Regions from separate parts of the Homo sapiens genome. Here region 2 is linked to region 1. Evidence: promoter capture Hi-C in 16 types of primary human blood cells and fetal thymus (Javierre and others, 2016). All regions are on one chromosome and are shown on one strand. The core of a region is centred on a gene start or on the middle of the fragment in contact, and the rest is flanking DNA. Distances in the headings are between cores, read along the strand shown. Region 1 holds the start of MTHFD1L (methylenetetrahydrofolate dehydrogenase (NADP+ dependent) 1 like). Region 2 overlaps ZBTB2 (zinc finger and BTB domain containing 2).

Region 1 (3,872 bases), core at 499-2,998:
AGCTCTCAATTCCCTACTTTTGTTAGGATTGTATGAAGGGTCCTTCCAGCACTGTCCCAGTATGGTGCTCGGCTAATGGAAAACCAATCTCTGTAACTTGGACTAGTTTTATTCCCACCTTATCTGGGAATTATAAGGGTATAAGGTTGTAAAAATATAAAGTTAACAATCTGACCCTCACTTGGGAATCATAAAATTACAATCTGATATCCACTTTACTTGGAACTTATGGTCAGCCCTCTGTATCCTCAATCAACCTGGGACTGAAAGTATTTGAAAAAATTACAATAACAAAAAATAATAAAAAATCATAGAAATAAAAAAGTACAGTGTAATATCTATTTACATAGCATTTACATTGTATTAGGTATTATAAGTACAGCAGGTCCTGGAATAACATCATTTCATCATTTTGCTCAGTGGTTTTCTTATAATGATGAGAAAAAAATAGATTTCTGGCTGGGTCCACTGTCACGTTTTATCCATGTCTGTGTGGATTTTCTCTGTCTTCTGGTGTCCTGTCACATCCCAAAGCCGTGCAGTGCACTTTAGGTAAATTGGTGCATCTACACGATCCGAGTGTGAGTGTGGGTGTGTGTGAGCACACCCTGTGAGGTGCCCTGAGTTGGAATAAGCCGGTAAAAATGATCTCACTTTTATTAATCTTTATTTTTCTCTAAGCGAGAGGGATAGGGGGTGTTTAAAAAAAACTTTTTCTTTGAGACAGAGCTGTGCTCTGTCGCCCAGGCTAGAGTACAGTGACATGATCTCGGCTCACTGCAACCTCTGGCTCCTGGGTTCAAGCGATTCTCCTGCCTCAGCCTCCCGAGTAGCTGAGAATACAGGCACGCGCCACCACACCCAGCCAATTTTCTGTATTTTTAGTAGAGATGGGGTTTCGCCATGTTGGCCAAGCTGGTCTTGAACTTCTGGCCTCACGTGATCTGCCCACCTCAGCCTCCCAAAGTGTTGGGATTATAGGCGTGAGCTAAAAATCTTCCTTAAATATATGCATGGCTCACACTTATTTCAATGTTTAATATTAGAAGTGTTTTGGTCTTTATTTCGAAGTTTAGGGGCGATTTTGTGACCACAGATATGTTGTAGGAACTTCACTCATATCAATTAGCCTGTGGTCAAACTGTTTTCCTTACAGTCATTTGGCTTAAAGTTTCAGTTTCCAAGAACCCCTCCACGATGTTAGGTGAGGACTTAGGGAATGTGGAGATGACCTAAAGTTTATGATGGGAAGATGTGTGTAGGTGATATGCAAACACTTTTTTTTTTTTTTTTTTTTACCAAGGACTTGAGCATTTGTGGACGTGGGTCCCCTGGAGGGGCCCTGGAACCAATCAGGACTATAAAATCCTTTTAAGGTTTTAAGAAGAGCATTGTTATCTCTGTGGTACTGACGAAGACCCCGCAAGCTCACCGAGATTAAGTGCCCCTGCCTAAGGTTACAAAGCCTCTTATCCTCAGGCCACCTCCAGTACAGCAAATCCAAGCCCTCCCGTCTAAACTTGGCGCCCTGAGTACCAAGGGTCACCTCGGCCTTTCAGGCTGAAGGGAGGGAGGCTGAGTCTCAGGGCAGAGTCTGAGTCCCACTCCGCACCCCACCCTCTGTCTGGTACAGCTTACCAAACCAAAGTGCCCAAAGCCGTGACATCCCGGCCGGCGGCTCGCAGGCCCCCGCCCTCCGCACGTCACGGCCGCCGGGTGCAGTGCCCCCTAGGGGCCCCTGGGACGAGGAGGAAGCGCCAGGTCCTTCCCGCCGCCGCCGCCGCCGCCGCCGCCTGCTCCCCTGGCACGCGCCCCGCCGCCCTCGGCAGCCGCAGCTCCGTGTCCCCTGAGAACCAGCCGTCCCGCGCCATGGGCACGCGTCTGCCGCTCGTCCTGCGCCAGCTCCGCCGCCCGCCCCAGCCCCCGGGCCCTCCGCGCCGCCTCCGTGTGCCCTGTCGCGCTAGCAGCGGCGGCGGCGGAGGCGGCGGCGGTGGCCGGGAGGGCCTGCTTGGACAGCGGCGGCCGCAGGATGGCCAGGCCCGGAGCAGCTGCAGCCCCGGCGGCCGAACGCCCGCGGCGCGGGACTCCATCGTCAGGTGAGTGTCGGGTCTGGCCCTGGCCCAGGTCTCCAGCGGCTGTGGCCCCGACCCAGGGGCGGAGCGCCCGGGACCGCCGTGGGGAGCGGGGCGCGGGGCTGCGAGTGTTTGGTGCCAACTCATTAGGGGGGCCGGGCGGTGTGTCGGGAAACGCGGGCTTGGGCACTGCGGCCGGGAGCGCTGGCGGAGAACGGGGGATCCAGTACCCGACCGGGCCCGCAGCGCAGGTGGGCGTGGGCATCTCCAATGGGCGCCTAGCGGCATGGACCGCACGCCCGGCTCCACGTGCGCAGCCGGCCGCCGGCTCTGATGCAATCGCGCCGGGCGCGACCCAGACGGTAAAGGGGCGGTGCGGCTGGGGCGGAAACCAGGGGAGGGGGCGAGGAGCAGGAGGAGGGCGGGGCTGCGGCTCGGCGCGCCGGCTGGCCCGGGGTTCGGGAAGGGCAAGCGGAGCTCGGGAGAGGCGGGCTCGGGCCCAGCGCCGCCCGCGCGAAGCTCCCTGGTGTTGTGCGCCCTTCCCCGCGCGCGGCCCCTCCTGCTGGGCTGGGGTCTGTGGCTGACGTCCGCTTTTCCCGGAACGGCAAAGGTGGAGCCGGGCCCCCGGGACAGCCGCCGGGGGGAATCCGAGAGGTCTCAGCGCTGGTTTCCAGCTTCGCCGCGCAGCGCCCACGGAGTCCCCGCGCAGCTGGGTTTGCAGGGTTTTCTGCGGGCCCAGAGCGAACTGGGAGCCCCGGGCCCGGCCTTTCCCGTCCCGGTCCCCGCCCCTGGGCTCCAGCCTTCCCCGCCCTCGCCCAGAGGGGCGCACGGGTCTCGGGCCTTGCAGGGCGAGCCCTTCGGGACAACTTGGGGGTGGCAAGAAAGCCCCTTCCGCCTCCCTCGGAACTGGGATTAGGAACGAGTTCCAGGATGCGGTTTCCCCGGCCAGCGGACCACCTCCTCCATTCACATCCTCTTCCCTTTCCTTCTAGCCTTCTTTCTTAGTCATTGCCTGCTTGCCTTTCTCTCTGCCTTTCCTTCCTCCCTCTGCTCTCCCATTTTCCTCCCCACTCCCCTTCTCCCATCTCAGTAAAATACGTTTCCTAGGCTCTTTATTATGTGGCGGATGATTTTAAGGGGCCATTTATTTAGTTTTTCTTGTTCTCTGTCTTCTTTTTCTTTTAGAAATGGAGTCTCGCTTTGTTGCTCAGGCTGGAGTTCAGTGGTGCCATCTCGGCTCAATGCAGCCTCCGCCTCCTGGGCTCAAGCGATTCTCCCGCCTTAGCCTCCAGTGTAACTGGGACCACAGGTGTGCGCTACCATGCCCGGATTATTTTATTTTATTTTCATAGAGACAGAGCACCACTCTGTTACCAGGCTGGTCTGGAACTCCTGGGCGCAAGCCATCATCCCTGCCCCCAAAAGCGCTGGGATTAATTACACGTCAGGTCATTAGGTTTTAACCTGCACGTTGCTGAGACTCATCTTACCGGTTAGAGTCTGAAGCCAGGATAGGCGGCAAAAAAACTTCTCCCGTCATGCTGTTTTATTTTCTAGGTAAACTGATTATTACCTGAAACTTCCTTCTTTGCTCATTTCTTGTCTGTCTCACCCACCTGGAATATGAGCTTCATGAGACAGCCGTCTCTTCGGTGCTATATCCTAGGTCCTGGAGAGAGTGCCCAGCATGTAATAAGCACTTGTGAAATGGTTACAGAAGGAATGCTTCAAGATTTGGGGTCATCTGTGGGTTTTATTCATACATATTCTTTTTTTTTTTTTTTTTTTTTGAGACGGAGT
Region 2 (3,872 bases), core at 464-2,963, 520 kb after region 1:
CACTGTTTCCTCCTTGATAACAGGACATTGACCACCTAGCTGTCACTTGCTTTCAGTTTTCATCACAGAGCACATGTGGGCTGATCCGTAAGCAACTCACTCATCCTTTTAGAAGTGCAGAAGAATGGGGCACATACAATTATGTTGTATTTTGACAACCTAAGTTCCTCCTTCATTTTCAGTGTAAGAATAGGAGATCAAAACAGCTTGTGGAAATTGTTGATTCAGTTTTTAAAGATAATAGCTGTTCTAAGACACTAAACACCACTTACACTACCCATTTCAAGGGCACTAAAAGGGTCCTCTGAAGTCCTTGATTTTATTTAAGTGAAGCATAAATGAATATTGTAATTCAAAGGACAATCAGTAACAGCAGAGGCATTACCCACAAGTAAGATTGATTCTTTCAAGTAGTTTAGACCACTTACTAGGATGAAAAGCTGATTTTTCAATTACTATTATTAATAATTAATATTGGAGGGCCCATGAAGTAAACCTGAAGGCTGGTCATTTGAATTTTAATACATTTTAAAACTGTATTTTGAAGGTAGAAAATGCATCTTATTTAGTTGTGATAATGGAGTGGCATTTTTTTCTTAACATTTCCTTAGTCAACCTTCTTCCATAGTAATTAGAAAAGAGAGAGGCATAAACAGCACTTATTTTCATATTAAAAAGCACTGCATTTGTAAAATACTCCTGTTTTCAATTATATTTTCCCTATGTTTACACTTAAATTAGTTTTTAGTTTCCAAATGTAAGTTGGGGTCATAAGGAGGCAATTCAGGGACATCTTAGGTGTCAAACAGAAGTAGATCAGAGATTTATGGCTAATAACGAGTTCATATTAAAGTAATAATTCTAAAGGCATTATGCTACAATCAACCTGAAGGAAACTTACAGATGATTACACACGGCAAAATTAAAAAATTAATCTGGGCTTGGGACAGTGGCTCACCCCTGTAATCTCAGCACTTTGGGAGGCCAAGGCGGGCAGATCACTTGAGCCCCGGAGACCAGCCTGCGCAACATGACGAGACCCTGTCTCTATAAAAAGAAAATTAGCTGAATGTGGTGGCATGTGCCCATGGTCCCAGCTACCAGAAGGCTGAGGTGGGAGGATTGCTTGAGCCAGGGAGGCTGAGGCTGCTGTGAGCCATGGTCATGCCACTGCACTCTAGCCTGCATGAAAGAGTGAGACCCTGTCTCAAAACAACAACAACAAAAAACTGATCTGCTTCTAATAATCCACCAGAGTGGAGATTGCCTTTGTTTTTTATATACCATAAAATGATTAGTAAAATTAATCTGAAGAAAATATAATCACCTAAATGTGTAGTTCAGGGTATATAACACAGGTGAGTTTCAAATGTGTTTAACTCAAAGTCTTAATAATATGTTTCAATATTTTAGAGCAGAGCTTCTGAAACTTTTTGGTGTTGGGATCCCTTAATGGTCTTAAAAATTATTAAGAACATCAATTATATGTTTATATGGATTTTAACTACTGATAATTACCAAAATGGAGAAATTTTAGAAATATTTAATTCAATTAAAAACAATAAGGCCATTACATGTTAAAGTACAGAACATTTTTATGAAAAAATAATTGTATTTTCTAAAATAACAAAGTGGTGTCTTTTTATATTTTTGCAATTCTCTTTAACAGAAGACAACTGGATTTTGCATTTACTCCTCAATTAACTCTGTTTTGGTTGAGTAGTGAAGAAAATCCAGCCTCACCCACCTATGTAGTTGGAAAAAGGAGATATATTTGAATAGCCTTTTCAGGTAATTGTGGACAGTCCTCTTTTATATTATACCAACACTTGACAAGTCTACTTTCTTAAAAGTTGGTTGTGTAATATAAAACTACATAACTGAATTAACTTTTCCTACTCTATTATAGTAATATTCATTGGTCTATCCACTTTCAACGGATCATTTACCCACTCATGATTTTTAACATCATCTGTTGGTCATTTGGAAAATATCGGCTCACTGAATTAAGCAGATCTTCTCAGTGTCAACACTGAGAAGACATTTTGTCAACACAGCGGAAAAGGCCATAACAACTTAGTATTACTGTGACAACAGTTTTGACTTCATTGAATCCTGAAAGGATCCTGGGGCTTCAAAAGGATCTGCAGACCACACTTAGACAAGCGCCGTTCAGAATCACTTTGGGGACTCAGAGAACCTAAATGACTCTCCCGGTGCAGGAGAACATGCGCACTTCATTCCAGAGGATTCTGACGCTTACCCTGCTTGGTGCAGAACTTAGCGAGTGCCCCCTGTTTAAGAGAACAGTACACTAAAATCTCTAACAAAAGTAAAAAAGTAGTTTCCCTAAGTACTTAGCCAGATACATAAAAGTATTTTTCAAATTCCTATCTTTGAATACTGAACTTTCTTAAAGTGACACTCAAAGGCATGTGATGCATACCTCAAGCATGTGAACTGGGGGTTATGAGTTTGAGCATAAATATGAGCCTCCAAGTTGGCTTCTAAAATGGATCTACATATGTTGGGCTGCCAACTCCTTGTAAGGGTTCTGTGGCTACTGATTCCATATCTTAATGGCTCTATCGGCATTGTAAAAATACTGAATCTTATTTACTATCAATTCGAAGTAATATTTTAATTATTTAATAGTTTAATTTGCTAGCACAAATTATAACCTACTTGAGCATAAAGAACGTTTTAGAAATATTCTTAGTCTAATGCTTAGAATGTTTACATTTTTTTTTTTTCTTCAGGGAAATAAAAATGTTCAGTTCCCTTTTAGGTTTTCAGTCATGTTTGGAGAGCCAAAGAGCATAAGAAAATAGGAAAAGTGATGATAAATGACCTTTCCCAGGTGCATTTGGTATTTTATGGTAAAAAAATTACCAGCAAACCAGTTCTTTCAATCTTCCTCTCCTGTGCAGGCTGGTGCCACGGGACTTGCCCAGCTTTTCCAAGTTCCTACAGGGAAAGGTGAGTGGGGCTAGGAATGAAGCACCAAGAAACAGTAAGAGCTGGAAGGGCAGTTCCCACCTCTAAAGCTGCTGATCCCAGGCCGATGCTACAGATGAGCTTTAGATATTTCCTTCTCTATTTTGTAAGTCTCAAATTGGGGAAAGCACATCCACTTACTCATGGGCATGCTGTGGGTACTTGAAATCACAGGATTGCAAAGTATATCTATGGGGTTGGGGTGAATACATTTTCTTTTCTTTTTTAATAGAGATGTGGGATCTATGTTACCCAGGTTGGTTTTGAACTCTTGGCTTCAAGCAATCCTCCAGCCTTGGCCTCCCAAAGTGCTGGGATTATAGGCGTGAGCCACTTTCCCTGGCCATGAACACATTTTTCTATTATTTTATATTATCTTATAAAAGTGCAGATTTTGGAGGTTACTGAAAAGTTGATATTAAAGTTTAAGATATAAAAGCAGGTGTCACCGTGGCAGCTTTTATTCTATAACTTAAAACATGATTAGCGTTTATTCTCTGCTGCTAGTGGTAGAGATTGCTCAGCATCAACGTATTTACATCCCCTTTGAAGAGAAGCTTTAAAACTGGCAAGTATGCACTGGGACTGTAGGACAAAGTTTTAGGGGCGTAGACTACACTCCACTGTAGTGTAGACTGCTCCTCCACTGTTGACCATCAGTGGCACCGGCGTATCACTTCTTGTACTTACGATGGCTTCAATAACTGGACAATTCTTTGTCTAGCAAACAAACCACAAGTTTATTAAATGAGAAATGCCCAGTTTAAAAGGATGTCCTATTAGTGGTAAATTACTATGCCTTTAAAAACTGCCTTCTTGTCCAGGAGCGGTGGCTCACCCCTGTAATCCCAGCACTTTGGGAGGCCAAGGCGGGA

Evidence for each region. Contacts are between HindIII fragments. The CHiCAGO score rates a contact against its expected background, and 5 or more counts as called.
Region 2: a fragment that was not itself captured here is called in contact with the fragment with the promoter of MTHFD1L in region 1 in 1 of 17 cell types (megakaryocytes); the score reaches 5.1 in megakaryocytes.

What each region holds. Positions count from the first base shown.
Region 1 is chr6:150,863,954-150,867,825 of GRCh38, forward strand. MTHFD1L (methylenetetrahydrofolate dehydrogenase (NADP+ dependent) 1 like) reads left to right here and starts at 1,749. Exons shown (of 28, transcript NM_015440.5): 1 at 1,749-2,096. The coding sequence starts at 1,870. RefSeq lists silencers at 1,591-1,820, 1,881-2,290, 2,451-2,650, 2,771-2,920. The HindIII fragment of the contact is 12,675 bases long and covers 1-3,872 here.
Region 2 is chr6:151,385,325-151,389,196 of GRCh38, forward strand. The region is part of intron 1 of ZBTB2 (zinc finger and BTB domain containing 2); the gene reads right to left. It overlaps LOC124901232 (translation initiation factor IF-2-like), which reads left to right and starts at 2,996. Exons shown (of 3, transcript XM_047419613.1): 1 at 2,996-3,013. The coding sequence starts at 2,996. RefSeq lists an enhancer at 138-297. The HindIII fragment of the contact is 3,678 bases long and covers 1-3,552 here.